Regions from separate parts of the Homo sapiens genome. Here all the other regions are linked to region 5. Evidence: promoter capture Hi-C in 16 types of primary human blood cells and fetal thymus (Javierre and others, 2016). All regions are on one chromosome and are shown on one strand. The core of a region is centred on a gene start or on the middle of the fragment in contact, and the rest is flanking DNA. Distances in the headings are between cores, read along the strand shown.

What was found. The method cuts DNA at HindIII sites, captures the fragments that hold promoters and counts their contacts. A CHiCAGO score of 5 or more calls a contact.
Region 1: a contact is called between the fragment with the promoter of COL8A1 here and the fragment with the promoter of DCBLD2 in region 5, in 2 of 17 cell types (total CD4 T cells and M0 macrophages). The highest score is 7.8, in total CD4 T cells.
Region 2: a contact is called between a fragment that was not itself captured here and the fragment with the promoter of DCBLD2 in region 5, in 4 of 17 cell types (M1 macrophages, naive B cells, naive CD4 T cells and 1 more). The highest score is 7.2, in M1 macrophages.
Region 3: a contact is called between a fragment that was not itself captured here and the fragment with the promoter of DCBLD2 in region 5, in 8 of 17 cell types (activated CD4 T cells, monocytes, naive CD8 T cells and 5 more). The highest score is 8.2, in activated CD4 T cells.
Region 4: a fragment that was not itself captured here is called in contact with the fragment with the promoter of DCBLD2 in region 5 in 1 of 17 cell types (naive CD4 T cells); the score reaches 5.3 in naive CD4 T cells.

Annotation. Positions count from the first base shown.
Region 1 is chr3:99,636,757-99,640,033 of GRCh38, forward strand. It overlaps COL8A1 (collagen type VIII alpha 1 chain), which reads left to right and starts at 1,838. Exons shown (of 4, transcript NM_020351.4): 1 at 1,838-1,908. It overlaps LOC124909401 (a long non-coding RNA gene), which reads right to left and starts at 1,924. Exons shown (of 2, transcript XR_007095981.1): 1 at 1,831-1,924; 2 at 612-1,178. The HindIII fragment of the contact is 3,484 bases long and covers 1-3,277 here.
Region 2 is chr3:99,754,745-99,757,880 of GRCh38, forward strand. All of the region lies in intron 2 of COL8A1 (collagen type VIII alpha 1 chain), which reads left to right. Among named protein-coding and RNA genes, the nearest start is that of CMSS1, 62 kb to the right of the region's middle. The HindIII fragment of the contact is 1,029 bases long and covers 744-1,772 here.
Region 3 is chr3:98,038,051-98,041,413 of GRCh38, forward strand. No RefSeq gene overlaps it. Among named protein-coding and RNA genes, the nearest start is that of GABRR3, 4.4 kb to the left of the region's middle. RefSeq lists an enhancer at 1,295-1,589. The HindIII fragment of the contact is 1,472 bases long and covers 642-2,113 here.
Region 4 is chr3:99,785,424-99,788,647 of GRCh38, forward strand. All of the region lies in intron 2 of COL8A1 (collagen type VIII alpha 1 chain), which reads left to right. Among named protein-coding and RNA genes, the nearest start is that of CMSS1, 31 kb to the right of the region's middle. The HindIII fragment of the contact is 3,668 bases long and covers 7-3,224 here.
Region 5 is chr3:98,900,158-98,903,474 of GRCh38, forward strand. It overlaps DCBLD2 (discoidin, CUB and LCCL domain containing 2), which reads right to left and starts at 1,538. Exons shown (of 16, transcript NM_080927.4): 1 at 965-1,538. The coding sequence starts at 1,169. It overlaps LOC105374002 (a long non-coding RNA gene), which reads left to right and starts at 1,857. Exons shown (of 2, transcript NR_189121.1): 1 at 1,857-2,360. RefSeq lists enhancers at 437-1,153, 1,154-1,869 and silencers at 977-1,666, 1,807-1,856. The HindIII fragment of the contact is 5,361 bases long and covers 1-3,317 here.

The sequences.
Region 1 (3,277 bases), core at 588-3,087, 740 kb after region 5:
ATTATTATTATCCAAATGGCACTACTGGGTATTTTCTTAATAGATTCTTTTAAAATGCTTTTTTATAGTTGTGGGCCTTTTTTAGACGAATAGTTCTTAAGAAGAGGAGGGGATTTTGTCCCTCAGCGACATTTGGCTAAATCTAGAGACATTTTTTATTTTCACAGCTGGGTGGCGAGTGCGGAGTGGGTACTGCTACTGGCATCTGGTGGGTAGAGGCCACGGACACTGCTTAACATTCTACAGTGCACAGGAGAGGTCCCTACAACAGAGAAATATTCTCCCGAAAGTTTCAGTAGTGCTAAGTTTGAGTAATTCTGCTCTTCACCATCAAGTTTCCTTCTCTTGGAGCCTGCTACCAGCCAATGACATCAGGATCTAACCTGAGACGAACCTAGGTGTTCTATACGGCAGCCTGGTGTACTGAAGAGTGCCTAAGGTTTGCAAGCTCGCTAGCTGTGGCTCCCCCTCTCGCTAGCTTGAGCTAGTTATTTAAACCCTTAGAGATGCCTTTCTTTAAATTAAAAAAAAAATAAATAAATCTGCACAATATGAATCATACCTACCTCATAAGGTTGCGGTGAACACTGAATGAAGTACATATATACATATTCAGTACAAGTTCGTTCCTTTATTATTTCCAGCCTACCCATCCCTCCCCCCTCCCATTCCCGCCTTTTCCCCCTCCCGGTACTGTATCTCCCACCCCAAGTCTCAGGTTCTCTTTTAAAATGCTTTAATTCCTTTGGTGGCAAAAATCAGGCTTGGGCTAGGAAGTGAGTCACCACTCAGCAGCGAAAGGAGCTTGTTTTTCTTTCTCTGAATGCATTTCTTAGTAATTTCAGACTGATCCTTTAGCCACTTGTTGGTTGAATCCTCTCTTAATGTTTAAGACACACTGAGAAAGAACTGTGGCACCAAGACGTTTTCCGATTGTTAGGAATGAGAGTGTTTTAAATACCGAAAATAACCAGAGGGCAGAGAGCTCTGAAATCCTACGTTACATAAGCAGATGCTGGAAGACCCAGGCTGGTTCTGAGGTTCCTGTCTCCACAAGCAAGTCCACGCGAATCCTCCCCGTTGCTGGATTTACTTTAATGCTGCCGAAGTCTCAAAAGGGGCCTCTGGATGCTCAGAGGACAGGCAGCGCAGGAACTTCCTTGTCAAATAAGCCTTGCCTGGAGGGAGAGGGATGGGGCGATTTTCACCCGCGGGCGGTGGGACGGGGCTGAGGGCTGGGGGCTGCCTGGCTCCAGGCCATGTCAGTGCCTCCAGCTCCAGGTCCGGGTCCACCCTGAACTTTGGCTCTGCTGCCCGGACGCCCAGCTTCACCTCCCTTGCCTCGCTTAGAAACCCTTCAGTTCTCCCGGACCGCTATGTAGCTTTTCAAATTCCCAAATTCACAGAAAACACCTTCAAAAGTCACAATCACCCACAACTCCCTCTGCCAAAAAATGTCATGCAAAAACGGAAAATACTCCGATTCCCCTTTCCTCCCAGACACTCTCTCTCTCTCTGTCTCTGCTATTCATTTTCTCCCCCACCTTTCCCCATCTGTGGTCAAGATCCCTTTCACTATTTCTAGTTCCCTCTCTTTTTTCCCTTCTCCCTCTCTCTCCCTTTTCCACTCCTTCCTCCGTTGTGACCGCGCTCCCCCTCCCCCCGCCCCGTCGTCTCTCCTCCGCCTTGCGGGCTCCAGTCTCTGCCCGCCCCTCCCCAGAGAAGAGTGTCCAGCTCCTCCAGAGGCTGCCCGCCCGCCGCTCCTTCCCTGCCCACCTACTATGAGGAGCAGCTCCTCCCACCTGCCCATAAAAGCCAAGTGCATGTTACCAGCAGCGGATCACAGCCCTTCCCCGATCCTCTCCGTGGGAGCCAGCGAGCCTCTCTCCCTGATCTTACGTGCTCAAGGTAAGACAGCACTTCTGCAGGCAGCTCACCTACCAGGGGTTGCTATGGGGGAATAAGTCACCCTCTGGCCAACGCGTTTGCTGTTTGGTTAGAGCTGATTCTTACGGATGCGCGATCCGCTGCTCCTTTAACTAGCAACTGGTTTGAAAACAAACTTCTGTTTGAATGGTAAAATAAAAGCTCCTTCAGGGAAGAAACAGCAGCATAAATATTGCGAAACCTTTCTCTTTTTAAATCACTTTTTCTCCTGTTGCTGACTGTTGCTTAGGTTAAAATGTATCTGTTTGGGGTGTTGTACTGACGTTTTTCACTGTACATATTTCACACATCAGTGGGGGCAAGGAAAACGTTGTCCCATTGTCAAAAATGTACTTTAAAAGAACACAGTTAACTTCCTAAAAATAGCACAGTCAAAAGGTCTGCTAACAATTTTGTGATGTTTTCCAAACCCCCAAGACAGCTTCTGTGAGTCCTTTAAAAAAATATCTTTCCAGGTTTTAGCGCTTGGAAAAAAATGATGTGAACGGGTGCCCTTTGCACGGGGACAGTAAGTAATCAGGTGGCTGGTAGATAGGAAGGAACAAATCCAAATTCACAAGCCAGGGTAGAATGTGCTCTCTCACCAGGCTATCTTTTCACGACATCCTAAAATGAGAATTACGATGGAACTAAGAAAGTGTATAAAAGAACTTCATGAATTTCTGTACACACACCTAAACATAAAGTGTTTCAATATGTTTCACAGTAAGAGAATAATACAGGCCAGATTATACAATACTTCTGTGCACACCAGATGGTTGTAAAGAAAGATCAGCGAGAAAGGCTTTGGAAGTTTTAATCCTTCTTTCCACCTTTTTTCCCCCGCATTTAGTAAATCACAACCTACCTGACTGGCATCCAATTATCAGAGATATTCAGTGTTTAAGCTACCCTCTTTAAAAGAAAATGATCTCTTCTTATTCCTAAGGTAGAATAAATGTGCACCTGTGAAAGGAAAAACATACTCCACAGCCACTTCTGTAAAACCAGACACTTGGTCCATGAAGTTTGCCATCAAATTCTGTGGGTTGTGTGGGATGAAACTCTCTCAAGTGGGAGAAAAACCCTCTTCAAATGTTTCCTCTGGGGAATTGCTCAAGACCACTTAGAGAAGGCAAACCAAAAGTACCAGTCAGGAAACCAAACCACTCTTTTAGCCCTTAAGGTTCTTAAAGTAAGAAGAGAAATGTTTCACTTTTTTATTTTTTTGTTTGTTTATATTATCTCATGTGGAAAGAAAAAACTCACCGAAGCTGTATGAAATTCTCCCCTATTAAAGAAACAAGACTCATTAGAAATTTAACTTAGGTCTTCCAAACCATTTCTCCTT
Region 2 (3,136 bases), core at 8-2,507, 850 kb after region 5:
ACCAGAGATCTTCTTGGATTTAAAAACCAGGTCCCTGATAATCCTTTTAGCTCCTTATCTAAAACATCTCAGTTACCAAATAATTTATCTCAATAGACCAAACCAGAGTTATCAAACCAAAGTACTACAGTACTAGGTTTCTTTGCACCTGTATATGTGTAACATGCTAAGACTTGCTGGCATCAAATTCATGGTAATGAAGGAAAAATAAACATAGAGTCAGAGGAATAATGGGTAACAATTAAAATACAGTAGGGTAAACTATCAGTACCTCATTTTAGTAGATTTCTTGATGTCATTTCAAGTATTTGCACATATTTAGTCACCAAAGCAACCCTAAAATTAGGCTAGATAAGCTTATTATCAACACCATTTGAGAAATAAAGATATTGACACACAGAAGTGTAAAGAAAAACAAAGGAAATTGAAGCAAAGAAACTTTAAACAACTTGAAAAAATAAGTGAGGGTTCATATATCCTAGTTATTAGGCCTATGCTTGGCCCCACAATTATAGTTTAACAATCAAATCCTGAAATAAGATGACTCCCTCTGATAGTTGAGTTTTTTAAAAGTTCTTTATACAAATATAGTAGAAGTAAATGAATAATTAGACTTCAAGGATAGTAAACACTCCATTAATTCACTCAACCAATATGTGTTGAGAATCTGCTATGTGGCTGGCACTGTTTTAGGTTGGGGAGTTTAGCAGTGAATGAGGGCAAAAATGCCATTCTACCCTTAAAGCTTACATTCTGTCTAGTTGGAGAAGAGTTGATAAATGTGAATATAAATAAATATTTAATACCATGTTGATCATGAAGAAAAATCAAATAAGGGAAAGGGATAGAGAATGATAGGATGAGGGATGCTGTTTAAAATTGAATGGTCAACACAAGCCACTCTGAGGAGGTGACATGTGATCTGAGATCTGAAGAAGGCAAGGCCATGCAACACAATGATCTGGAAGACAGTTCAGGCAAATGGGAAGTCCCAAGGCTGAGAACCAGTTTGGCTTGTTGCAAGATGGCAAGAAGACCACTGGCCAGAGCCTGGTAACTAAAGAGCAGATGGTGTCAAAGAAGAGAGCGGAGCCAGATCGCTTAGGTCTTGCAGGCTGTGGAGGGGAGTTCAGAGTTTACATGAACTGGGGTGGGGAGCCACAGGTGGATTTTGAACAGAGTGACAGGATCTGGTCTACTTCTTTAAATCATTACTCTGGTTTCTCTGAGGAGATTGGACTCCGCACATGAATGGAGACAGGGAGGTAAGGCACTGGTCCAGGCAAAACATGATCGGTGCCCAGTGACTCAGGATACATTTTCATTAAAGAGATCATAAAACTTGCAGATGGATTGGATGTGTGAGAAGAAGAGATATCGAGAATGTCTCCTGCACTTTGAGCCTGAGCAACTAGATAAGTACGAATACCATTTATCAAAATAGGGGAGCTTGGGGTAGAATCATTTTCTGAATCTTATAATCCTCCAATTGTACCAGTGAACTCAATTTGAGAATTCATTTTTGAAAGTGAAAAAGACTTTTAGTCCAAGAATCTTTAGAAAATGTCACCACCTGTTTTAGGATAAGCCATGTATAGCAATAATTATATTCTGCCACATGGAGTATTCCACTCTTAGAATTCTGAACCAGACCATGGTCCTGATATGATGTAATATTTCTAAGTGTTCCTTTGTAAAAATAGTTTCAAAGACTCATGAATTATAAAATCATGCCTCCTGTTTAGGACATGTTTATAAATATGAATAATAGAAGCTTAGCTCCTAACTATTTCAAGAAGTACAAGGAAAACGTCCACAGTTCAGTTAAAAAGAATGTTAAATATCGGCCTGAGATTTATACTCTTGAGAAATAAATGTTACAGTAGAAATGGGAAGAAATGTGCTTGGTCTCTGAGCCAGTGGTTCTTTTATGGGAACCAGGGTCTTCAATTTCCAGGCAGCTACGCTGTGCTGAACTTGGACTCAAAGATTTGGGGACAGTACCATCACGTCACCTAAGCATGATCAAGAAAACACTCACTTTGGGGATACAAACGTCTTAGCCAAAATCAGCAGTAAATCCAGCATAGAGCCAAAACTATGTAAACAGTAGTGTAAAGATCCATATGCAGAGAAAACTGAAGGATCACTAAATTCCAAGGAAATGTGGTTTCTTTTTCAGTCCCTACTTTTTACAGAGAATGCTCCTTTTAAATATTTTAGCTTCTCTGATGGATCTGAATTAGCTATGGTCATTTTTGTAGATGAAGAAGAAACGAAATTCTAATGGCATATAAACTCTAGAAAGACAGGGACTTTTCTGTCTTCTTGCTGTATCCCCAGCAATTAGAACTGCACCTGGCAAATAGTTGGCATTCAGCAAATCTTTGTTGAATAAAGAAATGAATAAAGAAAAGCTTGAATAAATTGCTGAATTTAAAGGGGAAAAATAAATTAGACAGGAATCTTTTCTTTCTACTTGTTTTTATATCAAAATTCATTTTGTCAGGTGAAACCTAATAAAAATGTTGGCAGAAACTTTTCTTCCTCGGGGTGCAACTCTTGTCTAATACACTCTTTCTCTGGTGTCACAGTTAACCTCTTGTTGACCATTCATGACATTGACTAAGCATTAACAGATTTTTATCTTAGGTTCCTACAGATTTTATGGGGTCTACATTTCTCACCCATTCTTCATACTCTTTGCTGGGGAGCACTGCCGACCTGAAAAGTTAAACAAATAACTACATAATTGTCAGGCTGGTAGCCCCAAAAGATGACTTCTTTTGACTGCCGTATTAATTCTGTCTAATCTTCTAAGATCCATGTCTAAGATTCTAGCCTGACTTAAACTTATATCAGTTCATTTACCTTTATCAGTTCTGACCTCATGCTCAGGGCTGGCCTTTTTTCCATCACCATCATTTTATCTGCCGTAGCTATTGAGTACCTATGGATGAAAACTAGTAAAGAAATAAAAATGAGAAATGAAGAAGGAATTGAATGGGATACATCTGTTCCCAAACTAAGGCCCTTTTCAGAAAGTATTTAATGAGAAAACAGAAGCCTCACATTTTTACAGCATAGAATCTAGACTGGATTTTAGAGGCTACTGTCACTCAGCCTGATCAGCATG
Region 3 (3,363 bases), core at 128-2,627, 860 kb before region 5:
AGGGATGAATCATGATGAGAATCTGTCTGACCTCTTTACTGAATAATCTTTGCTAGACTATCTATATCGCTATAAACATTAAGGAAGAAATAAAAGCAGTTTGTTTTTTGATGATGAATTTTAAGTGGGAAATGGTCTGCATAAAAATAAAAATAAGGCAATGGCTTACACTAGAGAGAGTTGACTTACAGAAAGTCTAAGGGTTTTAGTTCAATTACAAGAAGGCATCTGCCTCTGTTGATGCTGAGTTAGCTCCTTAACCTTATTCCTTTAGAGCTTCCCTTTGCAAGCTCAGTAAGCTTCTTAAGAAAAAAAAAAAAAGCAGAAAAGCACATCTGTCAGAACTAGAAAGTGGTAACTACCAGGAAACAAAATGAATCACAGGGTCACTGGAGAATTTCGTAGTAGTTTAAGCTCTCCCTTGCATAAATTGTCTCCTGTTTACTCTTCTTCCACTCTGATGATGTCAGTCAGCCAGTTTTTATTTCTTTGGCAGCGACATAAAGAGAAAATTTGGAAAGGATGGCTGTGTCGCCAATCTTGGGGTATGTAGCCATTATTTTGCCTATAAAGAGAAAACAAAAGAAAAGCTAAGGTCTTATTTAGACTGGATCTGACAACAGCAACAACAACAAATTCCAAGCTTCTATAAATTTCCCACTGTGTCTGCAGGATGTCATCTAGGCAAAATATCTTGATTTGCAAATTGTAGAGTCATAAAATCTTAATAGGGAAAGACTTTTGGAAATCATTTAGACTACATTTAATGTCTCTCCTGCTCTCTTTTATGCAGAGGAAGCTAGGACTAGAGAGGTTAAGTGATCAACTAATTTAGTTTTCATATTTACAGTCATGTGCTGCACAACGACGTTTTGGTCAGTGATGGACCACATATATGACTGCAGTTCTCCAATAAGCTAAGGTTAATTTATTATTGAAGAAAGAAAAATATTTTGTATAAATTTAGTATAGCCTAAGTGTACAGTTGACAGTAGTGTACAGTCATGTCTTGGGCTTTCACACTCAGTCACCCAGAACAACTCACTAACTCACCCAGAACAACTTTCAGTCCTGTTAACTCCATTCATGGTAAGTGCCCTATACAATTCATCTTTTATACTGCATTTTAACTGAACCTTTTCTATTTTGTCTATGTTTATACATGTTTAGATACACAAATACGTACCATTGTGTTACAATTGCCTATAGTATTTGGTATAATAACGTGCTGTATAGGTTTGTGGCCTAGGAGTAATATCATATAGCATAGGTGTGCAGTAGGCTAGACCATAGAGTTTTGTGTAAGTATACTCTACAATGTTTGCACAATGAGGAAATCACCTAACAACGCATTTCTCTGAGTTTGTCCCCGTCATCAAATTGCGCGTAACTGTTTTGCTTTGATGCATTGGAAATATAACTGGCCATGCCTAGAGCAGCCAGTAGGGGGCATTTGCTATCCTTCCAAAAAACCCTGCTCTCACTCAGAAATCCTGTTTCCTCTCCAGTTCCCAGAATTACCAGATAACCAGTAGATCATCGTTTTTTCATACCCAGTAGACCATCGTCCCCCCCACGACCCTTGTTTCAGTCTCTTATCACATCCTTCCTGGCATACAGAATCAGCTGTGATACGAGTGAGGACACCTGAAGAATCTTGCTCTGTTTTACAGGCAAGAGGATGACACTAAAGCAAAGCAGTCTTCATCATCGTGTAATAGCGCAAGACCACCACTAGATGGAAGCATAGGATACACATTCTCATCCAAATTACTATTGTCTCGAATTTGCCTCCTTAGGAAAACTTTCTTATGTAGTATTGGTAAATGCAAATTATTCAGCACTTGTAGTGAATAATTTTCACTTACCAATACTGGCAGAATGAACTGAAAAGATTAATGATATAATACCAAATGATTCAGATAAAAAACCCACACACCCCGTTATTGAGGAAAATGCAATTATTTACCTCGAATAATTGACTAATGAGGTTTATTGGTTTCTCTGATTGAACACTAATTTATTTTTAAGATTTCACTTTTTACCTACACCTAAGAACAGCATTTTGTTTGTGGGAACGGTAAGAGACAGAGGTGAACATTGTAGAAAAATAAGCTTTCTATTAGAATGAAGTACCTGTTATGAGTAAAGTTTCTAAAGGGCACTAAATAAAACACTAGGGCACATGGCTCTGGGACTGGATATGGTACTTACTGCATGATTTTTAAAAAGTTTCTTAAACTTCCTGGACTTCAATTTCCTCTTCTGTATTCATTAAGCACATGTATGTAGGTGACTTTTGAGACCCCTGAGGAAGCAATAAAACACAGTGGTTAAGAAGAGACAATAGCGATAATCTTTATTGGGATATTTGGTGTCAGTTTTTGTGGGTACAAACATCTATTCTTCCATTTACTACTTGTCTGAACATTGAAAATGACCTAAGATTTTTTGTTGAGTCAGTTACTTTATATATAGTTAAGAGGAATAATACTAGGACCTATCTTTTAAGGTTAAAGTCAGAATTTATGAGACTGTATGTTTAGCACAATGTTTGATACATTGAAGATACCATAATTGACAAAATTAATATCAGCTATCAATCTCATGCATCTTTATTAATGTAGTATGATCTTCCAATGTTATGAATTTCATTAAGATTACCAATAAGGTCCCTGTTTTCCAGGATTGAGATTTTGAGTCATCTTTAATTACTCCCTTTCAAAATCTTTCTTCGTTTTTTGCTTCAGAGCTACTTTTGCATTTTCCTGCCCTTTGTATTTCCATTGCCACCTGACCTTTTTGTCTCTAATATTAATATATCTCCCTGGGCTCCAGTGCTGCCACTGCTATGCATGCACCTACTTTCTGGGCCCTGGTACCATTGAGAAATATGCCCATATTTCTCAGAGAAGACTCCATCTGTGGGAGAAATGGAGAACAGAAGGGCCCAAGAAACTATTGCTGCTGCCATGGACACCCACAAATTTTGCCATCAAGTGCCCCCATAGTATTTGCTGACACTGACCTCAGCTGATGCAGCTGTTAGAATTTCATACCAATGCACCACCTTAGAGTAGAAGCTGCTGCACCCCATCTGACCAGCACCCTTGTACCCATCTGTGGTGAAGATCTTTCCCAACTGAAGCCTATCTGTAAGGTCTGGAAGAGGTAACTCCTTGTTCAAATACACACACATCAAAGCAAGGCTACAAAGAACTGGAAAAATCAAGAAAACATGATAACACTAAAGGAATACAAAAAAATCCACTAATGAATCCCTAAGAAATGAAGATCTACAAATTTCCTGACAAAGAATTAAAAATAATTGTTTTAAACAAGCTCAGCAAGCTACAAAATAAC
Region 4 (3,224 bases), core at 591-3,090, 890 kb after region 5:
AACATAAGCTTGGTTACAATTACATTTGACTTTGTATTAAACTTTAGGAGAATAACAATGATGGAGAAGGTGGGGAAGGCTTCACAGAGGAGGCAGGAATAGAACTGGTCTGGAGGAAAGAAGGTGTTATGGGCTGAGTTGCATCCCCCAGAATGCATATGTTGAACCTCAAGTACCTCAGAATTTAAGCATATTTGAAAATAGGGCCTTTAAAGAGGAAATTAAGTTAAAATGAGGTCACTAGGGTGACCAGTGTGGCTGGTAAATAAGAAGAGGCAATTAGGACACAGACACATGGAAGAAAGACTGTGTGAAGACGCAGGGAGGTGACTGCCATCTACAAGCCAAGGCGAGAGGCTCCAGCAGAATCCAACTCTGCCAATATCTTGATCTTGAACTTCAATGTCTCTAGAACTGTGAGAAAATTAATTTCTATTGAGCCACCCAGTCTGAGATACTTTGTTATGACAACCAGAGAAAACTATATGGTAGGACTGAAATCTACAGAGAAATAAAAGGAAAATAATTATCTTCCAGGAAAAAAGAATATCGTAAATAAAGAATTCAAAATGAGGTCAGGCATGGATGAAGAACATACTTTTGAAATGAGTCTATATTAGTGAAAGGTACCTTCAACTAACATTGTAGTAAACAGGACTCTTTCCTTTTTTCCCCATACGTTGTCTTAAGAAAGATACATCTCTCAACCTTCACATCTCTATCCAAAATTTACTTCCTCAGATGTCATTCCCTACCGTTCTTTCCAAAACATCGGAGCTCTTCCACTCTGTCATTATTGAACCCTTTATCCTGCTGCTATACATTGAATGTTTATGTCCCCAAATTCATATGTTAAAATATGACACCCCCCTCCGAAAGTGATGGTATTAGGAGGTGGGGCCTATGGGAGATAATTAGATCATGAGTGCAAAGTCCTCATGAACAGAATTAGTGCTCATATAAAAGAGACTCCAGAGAGCTCCCTTGCCCCTTTTATCATGTAAGGATACAGCAAAATGGTGTCATCTATGAACCAGAAAGTGGGTCTTCACTAGACAACCAATCTGCTGGCACCTTGATCTTGAACTTCCCAGCCTCATGAACACTGAGAAATTGCTGTTCTTTATAAACCACTCAACCTATGGTATTTTGCTACAGCAGCCCTAATGACTAAGACACCTGCATTGCTTTTTCAAAGCACTCAAATCTCAAATTATAAAATGTATTTTTAACATTTATCACCTGTCTCTCCACACTAGACTGTGAGTTCAATAAGATAATACCTCCACTCTCTAATTCACCACTGTATCTCCAATACTCAGAACATTTCCTGTTCTGAGTGTTCAATAGGTGTTCAATAGGTATATCTAATGAATGAATTGCCCTGAGAAATGCAATCAAGAGAGAATTTTCTTTGAGAGGCATGGAAAAACCAGGAAGGCAATTCTGGTGAACACTGGAAGAGGATTCTGCCTGACTTTCCCTTGCTTTAGGGTGGCAAATCTGAGGGTCTTGAGAGACTACAAATCTTGTACAAGTAGGAGGCACAGAGGACCAGCCCAGGAACTGATTAGAGAGGCTTATACACACCACACACAACAGAGACACACATACATACACAAAGACATGCTGTGTTAGCCTATGTGAAAGGGAAAGTTGGATTCAAGGCAAGGACCAACAGATTAAATATTTAAACATTCTTCTGTATAGTAAGCCAATGAGGATAAACGTACAAATAGAATGCTGATGAGCATTTAAAATATCTATCACATTATTCTGTTAATATATGTATCACATTACTCTGTTATGTACATTACAGGTCATATGAGGAATCTGAAATTCTCTGCAGCCCTGCTCAAATATAGGAAGCCATTTAGGGCTGTTCAAAGTATCTAGGATTGGTTATTCTTGACACATGAATGAATGACTGCCTTGGTTCAGCTGTTCTTTTTCTAAATCATTTTTAACAAGTGCATTTTAATGGCCATTACTGTTTTATTCATGTTAGGTTATCATTATTGCAGTTAACCTCACATTTACTTTGCTAGTATCTTTCTTTGAAAATCTTTGACATTTTAGTTGGTTTTGATTTGTCTTTCTGGTCACACTCCATTAATAATAACTTAAATCTGAATAGTCCTTTTTGGCTTATGAAGAATTCATATTATCATTTGTACCCCTGAACAGCTCTGAGGGATGGGCAGAGATTATAATTGCTATTTTACAGGTAAGAAAACTGAGGCTTAGTGAAGATAAAGGACTTGTCCAAGGTCATAGGCATGAAGAATGGCAGAGCCAAAACTTAAATAAAAGTCTTTTGACTTCTTTGACAGTGCTTTTGTCATATGACATGACACCCATCACTAAGCCAGCCTGGCTGGCAAAGATTCAATGTTCACACACATTAGATATGCTTATGTTCAAGAACACAAATACACACACACACACACACCCACACCCACACACACACACACCAGCTGTCAAACAAATAGAAATCAAAGAAAATATTAAGGAGAACTCACAATATTATTGTGTCCCACATTCTCAGAAAGAGAGGCATGAAAACCCACTATCACAATTTCTTCCCAGCAAAAATTCCAAGGCTCCTTCTTTCTTGCCAGGTGTTTGTATAAAGTTACCCAAATTTGATGTTCTTTTGAGTGATTTGGGAGAACCCCCATACCACTTTGACCACCAAAAATATCCTCAGGGACAGGAGAAAAATTAGTAGGAATAAGTAAAGCAGTAAATTCTAACCAGGGCCCTTATATAAATATTCACGTTAAAACTGAACAAAGTTTATTTAGATAAAGAGCCAGAGAAATGGCAGAAGGCAGACCTAAAGAGCTGGTTTACAGGACAGATATGCTGAGCCTATGAGAGGAAATAATTCAACTGGTATTCTTCCAGGCATTTCATCTCCTTCCAGTTTTCCAGTATTTCATTAGATTGTCCTGGTTTAAAGATTATGAAGTATAATCCAACATATCCACTGAATTGATGGAAGGCTGAAGGGCCAAACATGCTAGCTTATTATTAAAGACTTCACCACAAGTCTGGGGTTCCATAATTAAATTCATTCATCCCCAAAAGTAGAATTAAGTACCAGCTTATACATTACCAGATATTACCACACATTTCTGGTATGGATTAACACTTTCAGATCTCTAGTAACTGTCTTACAGACATTGAATGTTAGAGCTAGAAAAGACTTAAGGGAACAT
Region 5 (3,317 bases), core at 288-2,787:
TCCATACTTCACTGAAAACCATGAGAGCAACATAAAGCTGGGCTTAAAGGCAGAGAACAATTTTCTTTTTAAAAAACTCTCTTCCTAGCAATAAGTAACAATCCAATCCTTATCCTTCCCACTGCAATAAAATGGAAAATGCAATGGAAATATCTTTTCAAAAACTGATGCCAAACTGATTCAAAAAGTGTGGTACACTACGGGAAAACAGTACTAAAGGGGAAAAGAAATCACCCTGCATTCTCCTTCCATTATGATAAGTATTTAATAAACAGTTTTGCCTGTTTCTGGAACAGGTTTTTCAAGGATTGTAGGTGGAAAAAAAAAAAAGTTTTGTCACTTTCTGGAAAGGCTTACCTTTTTAATGTGGAGAGCTTCACTTGGGCAAATTAGCATAGCGTTGGGTCAGACCCAGTGTTTGACCAAGGCAGTCTAGACCACCAGCCTCAATGATGGATTGTAAAGAACATGTTCTGAATCCAAGACTCAGAGATAAGCAGAAACTATTCCATTCGCTTCAGAACCCGGGCTCTTTCACAAAGGATCATAATTACCACCACTTACCTTTAATAGGCTTAAGATGCTATTTAATTAACCTGCCTTCCTACAGTGTCCATCCATCCGTGCAGCTTAACTTTAGGGGTCATTACCTCCAAAGGTTCTTTTTCCTCCCCAAAATTTTCCCCAGAAGGACCTAATATCAACGAGGCTTTCATAGCAGGGTCTCACGTCCCCCTTTCAGAAAAATAAATGGCCTTGCCAAAAAGTAAAGCCGCGCCAACTTGGGGGACAGACGGGCAAGACCTTGCCTTTGCAACTCAACCCCGTGAGTACCCAGCCAGGTCCGGCCACGCACGAAAGCGCACCGCGCCTCCCTGCAGCGTCTGCAGATTTGTTCAGGGGCCAAGAGACCCGCAGCCCCGACGGAGGTTCCCCCGCCGCTCACTCCCCTGGGACCACTCACCTTGCTGGGCTCCAGCGTCCTCGAGCAGCAGGAGCAGGACAAGTAAGAGCAGGAGGAACAGAGGCATGGAGAAGGAGGAGGAGTTGGAGCAGGGAGGGAGGGAGCGGGAGAGGGGGAGCGCGGCCCAGGCGGGGGCGGCGGCCGCGGCCCGGACTTGGGGACACTGCGGGCAGCGCCTGGCTCTCACCACCGCCCGGCTCGCCATCGCGGCGGCCGGCAGTCTGCCTGCATAGTGCGGGTGCCTCGGCAGCCCCGCGCGCCTCTGGCCGCGGCACCCGACCAGGAGACGGCGGCAGCGGCGGGAGAACAAGAGGCAGCCCTCGCCTCACCCCGCGCCGGGACCCTTCCGCCCCTCACCCCGCTTTCACCTACTCCTCCTTCGTCCCTTCCCTCCGCTCCCCGCGCCGAGACCCCAGGCCGGAGCGCAGGGGAGGGGAGGGAAGGAAGCGGAGTCCTCGAGCCGCGGAGGACGGCCGCGGCGGAGCTAAGGAACGTGCCTCCCGCGCCGCGCTCCTCACCAGGGTCGCCGCTCGCCGCGCTCACCCGCGGCTCCGGCTAGCTGGCAGGCAGGCCCGCAGCCAGCTCCCTCGCGCTCCCTCTCGCGCGCGCCGGCCACGCCCCCTAGGCACCGCGGCCAATCCTCGGCCAGCTCTGGTCCGTCTCCTTCCGCGAAACCCAATCAGCATGCTCGCTCCTCGCTCGACCCGCTAGTTCTCCGGCCCATTCCTCGAGCTCCACCGCCCCTTACCTCCCTCTTCCAATCCCCTTCGGCCTTTGGAGGCGTCCCACCCGCCTCCTCCAATCCAGGTCCCGCCCTCCAGCTTCGGATCCCCGCGGCCCCCGCCCGGCCCGGGCGCCTGTTATTGTTGGGCCCTCAGCCCAAACTGATCCCGCAGAGGCGGCAGCCAGCTCGTCAGTGACTTCCGGGACGTCCCCCATCCCGCGCTCCCTGCTCCTCAGGCCCAGCTTGCTCCTTGCTCCTTTCTCCTCGCTCCTCCGACGCACATCAGACCACTGGAAGGGGGTGGGAAACCTGGATCCTGGGTTGTTTTAGCTGGGAGCTGAGTCTAAGGGACTTTTTTTTTTTTTTTAATGGCAGAGCGTGGCTTGTTTTGTTAAAACTGCCGCCAGTTGTTGCAACAGCTCCGAGTTAGAATAATAGATGCAGTGTTCAGTTTTTAATATATGTGTTCCCTGTTTTCTCTGCTCTTTTTATGGCGGGGGGTGGGGGACAAAAAAGTGTAAAACAAGATCCGTGCCGCAAAGGCAATTTAAACCTAACATCCCAACCTTCATGCAGCCATTCTACAAGGAGTTGTTGAGCACCTGCTGTCTATCTACAGAAATCTTGAAATGTGGAACAGAGATGGAAATATAGCATGCAAGTCAGAATGAAGTAAGTGCTAATTAGAGTCACAAGCAGTTTGATGGAGACTGTAAGCCTATGGAACGACAAAAAGAATTTTAGGAAAGAGGAATGCAGAGGTCTACGCAGTGATTTATTTTAGAAGAGAGTGGCCATGTAGGATGTTTTTAACAGCAGTCCCTGAAAGGACAATGGTGTCATTAGCAAATACAAAAAACTGCTAAGGTGGAACAAGTTGTGTGGGAAAGTAAGTTAATTTTGGACGTATTGAATTTGAGATGCCAACTTAGATAATAAGTGAAGCTATGTAACAGGCAGATGGATATTTTAGTCGAAAGCTCAGATTGAGAGCTTTGAAATTATGGCTCTGGGAGTCATACATAGCCATACATGTATACATATACATATGTATACATAGTCATACATAGATGTGATATTCAAAAACATGGAAGGGACTGATATCCTTCAATGAAAGTCTAAGTTGGAAAGGACTTTGGAGGTCGTATGTTTCAACTCCCCTGCATATTTCTTATACAATAATCTCTTTAACCAAATTTATTCAATTAACATTTATTAAATGCCTAAGAAACCCTATTATGCTCTAAGCCATTGTGGGCATTGGGCATAAAAAGTTTACTGAGAAGAACTTACATTCTGGAGGAGGAGGTGACATGTAAACAAACCTATTGTTATTAGTGCCCTGTTAGAGGTGTGGACTGGTGCCACAATACCACAGTGAACGGAGTTCAAAAAAACCCGTCAGTTTGAAATGCCAGTGTCTTGAATAAGAAACTAAAGTGAAAAAGGTGATCTCAGGCCAGAGGCAAAATAGGCTGGGTCACAGGCTCAATAGGGAATGGTGTTGATGGAGCTGGATTGACTACTGCTGACGTAATGGGAGGAACTGGAGACTAGTCTGGAAAAGTTAGGAGGGGCAAGATGTAAGGCAAGCTAAGAGTCAAGATTTTATTTTGTATCACTGGAAAA